4 separate regions of the Homo sapiens genome follow, and regions 1, 2 and 3 are each linked to region 4. Evidence: promoter capture Hi-C in 16 types of primary human blood cells and fetal thymus (Javierre and others, 2016). All regions are on one chromosome and are shown on one strand. The core of a region is centred on a gene start or on the middle of the fragment in contact, and the rest is flanking DNA. Distances in the headings are between cores, read along the strand shown.

Region 1 (2,700 bases), core at 44-2,543, 3.1 Mb before region 4:
TGTACCTGTAGTTCCAGCTACTCAAGAGACTAAGGCAGGAAGATTGCTTGAGCCCGGGATATCAAAGCCAGGCTGCGCTGCATAAGGAGACCTACTTCTCTAAAAAAGAAAAATTTGTACGTTTCTCAACACTGCATTCTCCTACTGTGAAAGATCTCAGGAACCATCACAGTTGGAGAGGTCTTACTACCCACATTTTACAAATGAGGAAACTAAGACTTAGGATAAGTAAACAGTATGCCCAAAGACACACAGCTGTTCAAGTGGCAGTACTAGAGATTGTGTTCAATTGATTGGAAAGCCAAAGCACTTTTACCTCAAGATGAGGGACCCAGGCAGCTCTAAATTTATGTAATTCTATGCACAGAGCTTGGTCTTTAGACCACAGAATTGTTTATAAAGTATCAAAGAACTTTAAAAAGCTATCTCACTTGGGACAGAAAGAAGATACAACTGGGAAAACAAACAAAGAATCTATAGCATAGTTTATAGTAATGTACGGATTTCAGTCTTTACTTAATTTTGACCAATGTAACATGGTAATGTAAGATGTTAATAATGAGGGAAACTGGATGAGGGGAATACAGGAACTCTCTATGCTATCTTTGTTCTTAGTAAATTTTCTGTAAAAGTATTCCAAAATAAAAACTTACTTTAAAATATCTATCTCATACTTGGCTGTTGAGAATTCAGTAAGAAATACCCCTTAGCCTTCAAGTAAGTGGTTGATCCATCTTGGAACTTTCCAAGATCATTTACTTATATAGAAAAAGAAAATTCACAGCGTTCCTTGGCATTGTCTCCTGGTATCTTGTAAGCTTCATATCAGGAAATGAGTTTCAAAAGCTAAATTAAATCCTTCCCATTTCAACTGGAGTCTATTTCTCATTCATTCAACATTTTTGTCTCTTCTGCTTCATAAATAGCAGCTGTTCATCATCATTCATGCAATGTGTAATCATATGCTTGCAGATCTGGTTTTCTATGAACAGAACATCATATGGCTTATTTGAACGTTTTCAAATCAATCAGGAAGAATTTACTGAATGCCATTTACATGCAAAGCAGTAGGATAATTCCAGGGGCAATGGGGAGGAGGGGACAATAAAAAAGAAAATAAGACACAGTCTCTACCTTCAAACAGCCTAATATTCATCCAGCGTTAAGAAATAACGAATGGGGCCGGGCGTGGTGGTTCATGCCTGTAATCCCAGCACTTTGAGAGGCCGAGGCAGGTGGATCACCTGAGGTCAAGAGTTCGAGACTAGTCTGGCTAACATGGCGAAACCCCGTCTCTACTAAAAATACAAAAATTAGCCTGACGTGGTGGCTGGAGCCTGTAATCCCTGCTACTCGGGAGGCTGAGGTGAGAGAATAGCTTGAAACCGGGAGGTTGAGGTTTGCAGTGAGCTGAGATCACACCATTGCACTCCAGCCTGGGTGACAAGAGTGAAACTCTGTCTTAAAAAAAAAAAAAAGAAAAATAACGAATAGATTTAATATATATTTACTGAGTACCTACTGTGTGCCCAACACTGTTCCAGGTGCTGAGGAAACTTGACAATAAGCAAAACCAGACAATTTCCTGCTGTCATCATGCTTATTGACAAGTAGGAGAAACAAGCATTAACCAAATAAATGTGAAATTACCGTGGTAAGTGGTATGAAGGGGAAGTACAAGGTCAGGGCTGCTGCTAGCCCATATGGTATCTTTGTGCTATTTTTTAAAAGGCCATAGCAGAAAGAGCCCAGAGTAGGTAAAGCTTGGCAAGCAAACAATGACTTTGGTAAATTAGAAAAGGCACCCCCTTTTCCAGATTGATACAACCCTGCTCCGTGTGCAAGGCTTTGTGAGTGGAGCACAAATTTGATTTTAGTTTTAGTTGTCACCTCAGCTGGGAACCCTTGTTTAGATGAACAAGCTGCACAGGCATACACAGCAGCTGGACAAAGTTTCCATGGACGTGTGTAATAAAGTGAGACATGGGAGGGTTTCCCTGAGAAACAGACAGAAGAGTAGAACTAAAAGAAGAATGGGAGTTAACCAGTCTCCCATTAAGAAGAGAAGGAGAAACATTCTAGGGAGTGATAACAGCATGTGCAAAAGTCCTGGCGCAGGAATATGAGAAGAGTACAAACGCCATTGGTACACTGAAAGGTCAGTGCTGGTGAAGGACTGAAAAGAGAAGGTGACAAAAGTGTGGTAACAGAGAAGGCTAGAAAAGAAGGTAAGGGGCCAGATCGTGGAGGATCTTATAGACCTTCTTAAGACAAGTCTATTAACATGTATCTCCTGTTGATAAGACTTATACAGAAGGAATTAGAATGGCATTATTTTAACTCTGTTTGTATTTATTTCACTTATATACAGTGAAATGCACAGATCTCAAGTATATAGTTCCATGTGTTTTGACACAGGCATACACCCATATAATCCACACACCATCAAGATACAGATGGAGCTTTCCAACACCTCAGAAAGTTTTCTCATGCCTCTTCCCAGTCAAACCTCTCCTCTCTTTCTCCCCAGGCAGCCACTATTCTGTTTTGCCTATATTTGCATATTAGTTTTGCCTATTGTAGAACTTCATATAAATAGAATAATTCAGTATGTTCTCTTTTGTATCTGGCTTCTTTTGCTCAGCATAATGTTTTTTAGATGTATAAAATGACATTAGCTTTTAAAGAAAAATACTGCCT
Region 2 (2,700 bases), core at 67-2,566, 5.0 Mb after region 4:
CTTTTCAGGTTATCTCGTCTGCTGTGCTGCAGATGTAAAAGTCAGATCAAAGGTTCTGCAAGGGCCACCTACCTAGACCCCTTCACCCCACCCAACCTGCCTTCTCTATCAGGCAATGGGGAAGGCTCTGCCATCCAGACTCCAGCTACATGTCTCACTACCTCTGTGACTTTGCACAAGTCACCAAACTTCTCCAAGTCTCCTTTTCCTCATCTATGAGATTGAAATGAACCGTATCATCTTTGTAGGTTTCTTGTGAGCATCAGAAGACAAAACATACAGGAAAATAATCTCAAGTGTAGCAGTAGCCACAGATGTTAGTCACTGTCAGATCCTAGCAACCCGTCAAGCCCAGCTTGATGAGGCCTCTAAGAAACTCTTTCTTCTTAGAGGCCTCATCTGTCCTCTCTAACTGGAGAAGATCTTTCCTTCCTCTGGTTTCTCACTGCTCTCAAGCCAAACCTTGTAGACATTTTCAAAAGCTGCTCCGACCAGAGTTTCTCGTATCCAAGTCTGTCACCCTCACCAGGCTGCGATCCTCTCAATGGAGGAGACTCCGTTTGCTTCATGCCCATGCCCCCAGTTCCCAGCCTGGGCTTGGTGCAGAGCAGGACGTCAGTAAAGTCATGTGAACGACTGTAAATTATCCCTGGTCTGGAGTGCTCACAGTCTGGCAAGGGAGGCAGACAGACAGTGATAACATGTGACAGAGGGATGTACCAAGACTGTGGGAGCCCAGCGAGGCCCTAGCCCAGCCTGGTGGAGGGCATGGGAGTACTGAGAGTGATCAGGAAAGGCATCCTGAGGGAAGTAACACTAGAACAGAGACTTACAAGGTAAGCAGGAGCTGTCCAGGCAGAGCAGAGAAAGAGAACGTGTTTTAATTTCCATACTACACTGACAGAGAAGCGTTTATGGTTAGAAAGCACAGTGTGTGCAAAAGCCCAGAGCAGCCATGAGGCAGCCCAGCCTACTTGGGGAACGTGAGTGGCTCAGTGTGCTTGAGGCACATGATGGACCTGGGGAGGTGATGGGAGACAGCCAGGCACCAAATGACGGGGACTGCCACCAAGCTGTGGTATGGCCCGCTGGAAGGCCCACACTGGTACCTTTGTCAGAGTGGGGCAAGGCCCAAGTAGGGGACTGTCGCTCACCTTGATGGCCTCCATGACAGGCTCATACAGATCCGGGAAGCCCGGGAACCGGAACACCATGCAGTGGACCAGCTCCGCCAGCTGCTCCAGGCAGCTGGTCCCCGAGTTCGAGTCCTCCTTGACCAGAGAGGCCACCATGGGGGGGATGTGAGGGAGGAGCTGTGGGAGCAGAGCTGCGTCAGGCTCAGCACCAACCCGCCCACCTGAGACACGGGGCTGTGGTCCCTGCTGACAGCACGCAACACTCTCTGAGGTAGGGAGGCTTGCCCACCTGACCACTGTCCCCTGACCCAGATGGGGCTCTGAGCTCTGCAGGCAGGTGACTCCTTTTCCCAACAATATGATCTAAGACACCCTGCCTCAGTTTCTTCATCTGCAAAATAGGATGACTACTCCTCTCCTCACAGTCAAAGGGAGGCCAGAGCCCACGATCCAGCTGCTTGGCCTCAGCCAAGTGACCTGCCCCAAGAGCCCAGGGTCAGCAGGCAGGGCCCTTACCAGGGGCAGTAGGCAGGGCCCTTACCAGGGGCAGCAGGCAGGGGCCTCACCAGGGGCAGCAGGCAGGGGACCTTACCAGGTGGAAGGCTTCGTGGGAGTGCTGGAAGGTCAGGAGCATGTACTTGAGCACAGACAAGGCAGCTCCCCGGACGATGGGGTACAGCAGCTTAGAGAAAACCTACAAGAGAGTCCCTGGTCAGGAGTCCCCAGGCTTGAGCTGCTGAGGCCAAGTAGAATCACAAGCCTGAGAGGGGACTCAGAGACACCCTAGAGTTCAAACCCATGCAGAGGGATCAACACTGAGGTGCTCACAGACCCAGATGGACAGACAGATGGTGAGATGGACAGCAACATAGATATCTGAGGAATGGATGGACACACCAAAAGTCAGACACACATACTTGGATGAGTAGTCAGGGAAACTAATGGGGAGAATCTGAGGCCCAGAGAGGGGCAGTGAATTCGCCCAGGTCACACAGCGAGCTTGGTGGGTAGGCCCAATGCTCTGACCTCCCAGACCTGCACCGCCCCTGGCAAGAGCCTAGTACAAAAGGCTGTAACTCTGGGCTAGGACAGGGGCACCAACCTTCTCAATTTTGGTGAGCGAAACCTCGATCAAGATGCTGAACTTCTTAACAGCAGCCAGGCCCTTCAGCAGTGCAATGATCCACTTGTCAATATTCTTCCCCAGGGGCCAGGACACCCAGTCAATCATCCTGGTGAGGGGAGTGACAGTGACACAGGGACAAGGGACACCCAAAATGCTGGGGTGAGGGCAGCCCAGGGGCTATCCGTAATGTCCTGGGTTCCCACATTGACTCACACCTGCAAAGGGCAGCCCCGGGGTCTGTGGGCTGAACCAGACATGGCTGGGAAATGCACAAGCCCAGCACAGCCACCTGCCAGACACTGAGGCTCCCAGCCCACCAAGAAGGGAGCCAGGCCCTCTCAGCACCCCAAGTCTCGCCCCTCCACACTGGGCTGCAATGCCAGAACAAGGCTTTCAGCTGCTTCTGCCTGGAAGGGCACTGCCCCTGGGCCAGAAGCT
Region 3 (2,700 bases), core at 162-2,661, 3.1 Mb before region 4:
AGTCCCTCTTCAAAAATTATGCAGCTATAATTTGAGCAATGTTATATTAAACATTAATAAAGAATGTACAGCAGTAGCTCACACCTGTAATCCCAGCACTTTGGGAGGCCAAGGTGTGAGGATCTTTTGAGGCCAGGAGTTTGAGACCAGGTTGGACAACATAATGAAACCGTATCTCTACAAAAAATTTTTAAAAATTAGCCAGGCATGGTGGTGTGCACATGTAGTCCCAGCTACTCAGAAGGATGAGGTGGGAACATTGCTTGAGGCCAGGAGCTCAAGCTACAGTGAGCTGTGATCACATCACTCTACTATAGCCTGGTTGACAGAGTGAGATCCTGTCTCTAAAACAGTATTTAAAAAAAAGAAAGAATGTAAAGCAAAGACACGTCATGTAAGCTTGAAATATAACAATGTTCATTCTGTCTGTGAATATAAATGCATCACATAAACACCCCAGAGGTAGTAATACATGTGAAAATTAACAGTGCTGTAAAAATGATTCCTTGATTTCAATTTTGTACAAGCTTTTGTATGGACATGTTATTTCTGTTGGGGATACATATGTACACCCCCACCCACACAACCCTAGGATATACATACATATGTAAACATCTAGGATTAGTGACTCTGTAACATTTTGAGGAACTGCCAGATTGTTTTTCAAAGTAGTTACATTTTACATTCCCACCAGCAGTGTCTGAGAGGGCTCTGATTTCTTCTTGTGCCAGTCAATACTTGTTAGTATCTAACGTTTTTATTACAGCCACCCTAAGTAGGTGTGAAGTGGTATTTCATTATGGTTTTGATTTGTATTTCCTTAATGATTAATATGTTAAACATCTTTTCATGTGCTCAGTGGCCATCTGTGTATGCTCTGTGAAGAAATGTCATTCAGAACTTTTGGCCATTTTTAAATTGGGCTGTCTTTTTATTGTTGAGCTATAAAAATTCTTGATACACGTCCCTTATTAGCTGGGAATCATGGCTCATGCCTGTAATCCCAGCAGTTTAGGAGGCCAAGGTAGGAGGACTGCTTGAGGCCAGGAGTTTGAGGACCAGTCTAGGTAACACAGGGAGACCTCATCTCTACAAAAACATTTTTTACAAAATTAGCCAGGTATGGCGGCACGTGCCTGTAGTCCTAACTACTTGGTAGGTTGAGGCTACAGTGAGCCATGATCACACCACTGCACTCAACCTGGGTGACTGGGCAAGACCCTGTCTCCAAAAACAAAAAATAAAAATCAAAGTCCTTTATCAGAATGATTTATAAATATTTTTTCTCCTTTTGAGTAGGCTTTTTTACTTTCTTGATAGTATCACTTGGAGCAAAATTCTTATTCATGCTCAAACTTCTGATTTTTAAAAATGCTCTTACTGACACAATAGAGGAAGACCAGGGTTAAAAGTTGTGATGTTGGGCTGTGCGCAGTGGCTCACGCCTATAATCCCAGCACTTTGGGAGGCCGATGCGGGTGGACCACCTGAGGTCAGGAGTTTGAGACCAGCCTGGCCAACATGGAGAAACCTCATCTCTACTAAAAATAAAAAAAATTAGCCAGGCATGGTGGAGGGCGCCTGTAATCCCAGCTACTCGGGAGGGTCAGGCAGGAGAATCACCTGAACCCAGGAGGCAGAGGTTGCAGTGAGCCGAGATAGAGCCATTGCACTCCAGCCTGGGCGCCAAAGCAAGACTCTGTCTCAAAAATAAATAAATAAATAAATAAATAGAGGCAGGACGCAGTGGCTCACACCTGTAATCTCAGCACTTTAGGAGGCTGAGACAGGCGGATCAACTGAGGTCAGGAGTTCAAGACCAGCCTGACCCATGTGGAGAAACCGTATCTCTACTAAAAATACAAAAATTAGCCGGGCATGGTGGTACATGCCTGTAATCCCAGCTACTCGAGAGGCTGAGGCAGGAGAATCTCTTAAACCCGGGAGGCAGAGGTTGCAGTCAGCCGAGATTGCACCATTGCGCTCCAGCCTCCGCAACAAGAGCGAAACTTTGTCTCAAAAAAAAAAAAAAAAACCAAAAAACAAAGAAAAGAGAAAAAAAAAGTTGTAATATTTAGAACAAGTGAGGCATTACGGTCTATACAGTTGTTCAGAAATATCTGAGCCCCAATTAGTGTTATCAAGAGACAAGAAAAAGTAATCAACTCTTCCTAGAGGTAGTGATTTCCAAAATGCAATGCTTTCCCTTTATGGGAATATTTCAAATAACTTATCCTGAAAAACGTAGCATTTTTAAGAAATTCTATAGGAAATCCTTTATAAAACAAAAGCTTTTTTAAAAAATAAAAAAGCAATATGAATTTTCATATGTAGTATTTATTATTACATGATTGGACAAAATGATTTGGATATGCTAACATAGCCTGGGATTTTCCTACTAAAATGTACTGTTATAACCTTTTTTTTAATTTGGCTTTATTTCCTTAGAACACTATCTGTCCATACACTGGGGCCTACTGGAGGGTAGAGGGTGGGAGGAGTAAGAAGATCAGGAAAAATAACTAACAGATACTAGACTTAAAATAAAACAGGACCTGTCAACCTAAGTAACAGAGAGGCTCTCTAAAATAAAAGATGTTTATATGGAAATAATGCACTGCAATGAGAATGTACATGCCAAAGTAAACTATGTGTGTTCTCCGAGACGTAAAGGAAAGACAGAGGTTTTTAAAGAAAAAA
Region 4 (2,700 bases), core at 166-2,665:
GAAGAGGAGGACTACAGGGAAATATAAGGTGGCAGAGGACCACTTCTGTCAAGGGGTAAAGAAAAACACTCCTTCGCTATCAGGGAAGGGAGAAAAAGAGAAAAGGAAGAGGAGGAGGGACTGAACTTTTCAGAGAAACTGCAAGTACTTGTTACCCTCTGGGCCAGTTCTCCACCTACAGGTTGGATAAGATCTCCTCCCCCCACCCAAACCCCACCCTCAACCCCACTTGCCCCTATTTTGGGACAAATTAGACCCTCCAATAGGAGAATAAAAGTTTTATCTAGCCGCCCCCACCCCAAAATGGGGCTGACGGGAGTGAGCAGCTGCCTGGCTGGCAGGGAATGGATTCTCCTCTCTTCCCTTTCGCATCATGTGCTTTTCAGGCGCCATGTTGGGCTCCTAACAGGCGGCTGCTCCACTCGGGGCCAAATCCCTATTCCCACCCACCAACAGCTCGCTCCCAGGTCCCCCTTCACCTCCTTCCAACCCACAGAACACAATTACCAAAAAGGGTGCTTGGGGAAAATGGGAGACCCACTCTCCCACTTCCCAGGGAATTAAAATGGCTTATGTTAACTCTTACTTCCCCAAACCACAAACTGCCTTTAAGTCTCCCCCACCCCAAAGGGCTCTATTCAAAGCGTGTGTGTGTCGGGATATACAATGCGGTGGCCTAAAAAGGGAGTTGGAAAGCGGAAGTGGGACTCCACCCTTTATCCTCCCCACTCCCTCCCCCCCAGAGGCCCATGCTCGAAGCCTGGGCCAAAGACCGAGCCTGAGTTGGAGGGGGGTGGGGGGGTTGGAGAGAAGGAACACTGTCCCCCTTGGGATGGAAGCGAGACCTGGGATGAGGCTGACACTAAAATCAGGGAGTATTAGAAGTAATAGGAGGCTGCGGGGTGTATAAAAACCTTGGCGGTTTGGGCCTCGATGAGAGAGACGATCTCCTTGGCGAAGGGCAGGTTCTCCTCGGCTAGAATGGTCAGCATATTGATGTGCGGCTTGCTATTGAAGGTCAGGTCTTCGAGCGATGACTGATAATCCCGACAGGCGTCCTCCCGGGCCCCCGCAGCACCGGCCTCGGCCGGCGTCTGCTCTGACATTGCGCCGCGGCCCCCCTCCGAGGTCCGCTGCAGCTGAAGCTGAAGCCGCTCTGGATACCCCGCCTCCCTTCCGACTCCTCTTCCTCTCCCCGGCTCTCTCGCGGCTCCGGCTTCACCACATGCTGACCGCGGAGGGGGGATGGGGGACGACACAGGGGGAACCTCGGGTATGAAACGCCGCCGTCTCGCGGGTGATCTCCGTCCACTTCCAGCCGCCACAGAAGCTTCTTTCTCCACAGACACAAAATGGCGGCGGCAGTGGCGGCTCCAGCTCCGAAAATGTCTGTGTTCCCAACCGCTGCGTCGTGCGAAATGAACTAGGGGAGGGGAAATGTGCGGTAAAAGGGCGGGGCCACTGATAAAACCAGGCGTGATTGGCTGTCCCGGCAACGTCACGAGCCCCGCCCCCGGCCCTTCCGCAGGACGCCCTGGCACCGCCTTCTTCTCCGGCCTCTACCCGGACTTTCGCAACATCTACTGCTCGGAGGCGCACTGGAAAAGACGGCCCTTCTCATTGGCCGATTCATAAGGGACTGTTCGGTCATTTGTTACCATAACAACCCATTCAGGGAAGCCAATAGGCCTGGGAAGGCAGTTCCCGCGGCCCAACCCAACCACTTTGAGAAGAAGACTCAGCCGTCCCCTCTTCGTCCCTCCCTCTAGCTTCCCAGCCACTGAGCGGGCCTGTCAATCATCTTTCCTCCCGCCTGCCCCGTAGCTGCTACCGACGGTGGGGGTTGGAGGGAGCGGGGGTTGGAGGGAGCGGAGGCTTTCTGCCGCCGCACCCCCTCTCCCTTAGCGTCTCAGGTGCTCTGGAGAGCCAGGGCGGGTCCAGCTGCCCCTCTGGGAACTGGGAAGTGGGAGGGAGGTGCCCAATTTACCCGGAACTTCGGAAAGCACTGCTGGAGAGTTTCTTCCAGCACGCCGCTTCCCACACCCACAAAAATACCTAGGCGAGCTTGCCTGACTTGAATCCCCAGGAAAATGCCTTTTATTTAGAGATTAAGTGTGAAAGGCTTTTTCCTTGGGGGTTTGGAGGAGCTCTTTAAGGAGCCCACTATGAGCTCTAGGAAGAGTTTTTCACAACAGCCACACCCAGCTGGACCGTAATATCTCCACTGTGAATCTGCATTTCAGAACCTCCTTAGCATACACTATTTGGGGCACGTAGGAAAACACACACGCGCATGCACTTTTGTTTTAAACTTGTGGGGCTGTCTTCCCAGGTTGGAAATGATGCTCGTAAAACACACAAAGCTTTCAAATAGTTCACCGTGGAGCTGCGACATAACACAAACCAAACGTAATTTTTTCATTGAGTAGCGATATTGACCTAAATATAAGCTTTTAAAATGTGTCAATTACGGGCTGGGCGCGGTGGCTCACGCCTGTAATCCCAGCACTTTGGGAGGCCGAGGCGGGCGGATCACGAGATCAAGAGATCGAGACCACCCTGGCCAACATGGTGAAACCCCGTCTCTACTAAAAATACAAAAATTAGCTGGGCGTGGTGGCGTGCGCCTATAGTAGTCCCAGCTACTCGGGAGGCAGAGGCAGGAGAACCGCTTGAACCCGGGAGGTGGAGGTTGCAGTG

Evidence for each region. Contacts are between HindIII fragments. The CHiCAGO score rates a contact against its expected background, and 5 or more counts as called.
Region 1: a contact is called between a fragment that was not itself captured here and the fragment with the promoter of PCF11 in region 4, in 6 of 17 cell types (fetal thymus, erythroblasts, total CD4 T cells and 3 more). The highest score is 18.7, in fetal thymus.
Region 2: a contact is called between a fragment that was not itself captured here and the fragment with the promoter of PCF11 in region 4, in 1 of 17 cell types (non-activated CD4 T cells). The highest score is 6.4, in non-activated CD4 T cells.
Region 3: a contact is called between a fragment that was not itself captured here and the fragment with the promoter of PCF11 in region 4, in 1 of 17 cell types (M0 macrophages). The highest score is 7.0, in M0 macrophages.

The regions. Positions count from the first base shown.
Region 1 is chr11:86,239,774-86,242,473 of GRCh38, reverse strand. No RefSeq gene overlaps it. Among named protein-coding and RNA genes, the nearest start is that of EED, 3.6 kb to the left of the region's middle. The HindIII fragment of the contact is 945 bases long and covers 821-1,765 here.
Region 2 is chr11:78,199,263-78,201,962 of GRCh38, reverse strand. It overlaps USP35 (ubiquitin specific peptidase 35), which reads right to left. Exons shown (of 11, transcript NM_020798.4): 4 at 2,239-2,368; 5 at 1,729-1,830; 6 at 1,155-1,313. Among named protein-coding and RNA genes, the nearest start is that of USP35, 12 kb to the right of the region's middle. The HindIII fragment of the contact is 2,768 bases long and covers 1-2,700 here.
Region 3 is chr11:86,257,891-86,260,590 of GRCh38, reverse strand. The region is part of intron 6 of EED (embryonic ectoderm development); the gene reads right to left. Among named protein-coding and RNA genes, the nearest start is that of EED, 14 kb to the right of the region's middle. The HindIII fragment of the contact is 1,764 bases long and covers 530-2,293 here.
Region 4 is chr11:83,155,846-83,158,545 of GRCh38, reverse strand. PCF11 (PCF11 cleavage and polyadenylation factor subunit) reads right to left here and starts at 1,415. Exons shown (of 16, transcript NM_001346413.3): 1 at 915-1,415. The coding sequence starts at 1,106. RefSeq lists silencers at 250-309, 1,760-1,839 and enhancers at 1,110-1,359, 656-1,445, 1,510-1,559. The HindIII fragment of the contact is 1,033 bases long and covers 1,333-2,365 here.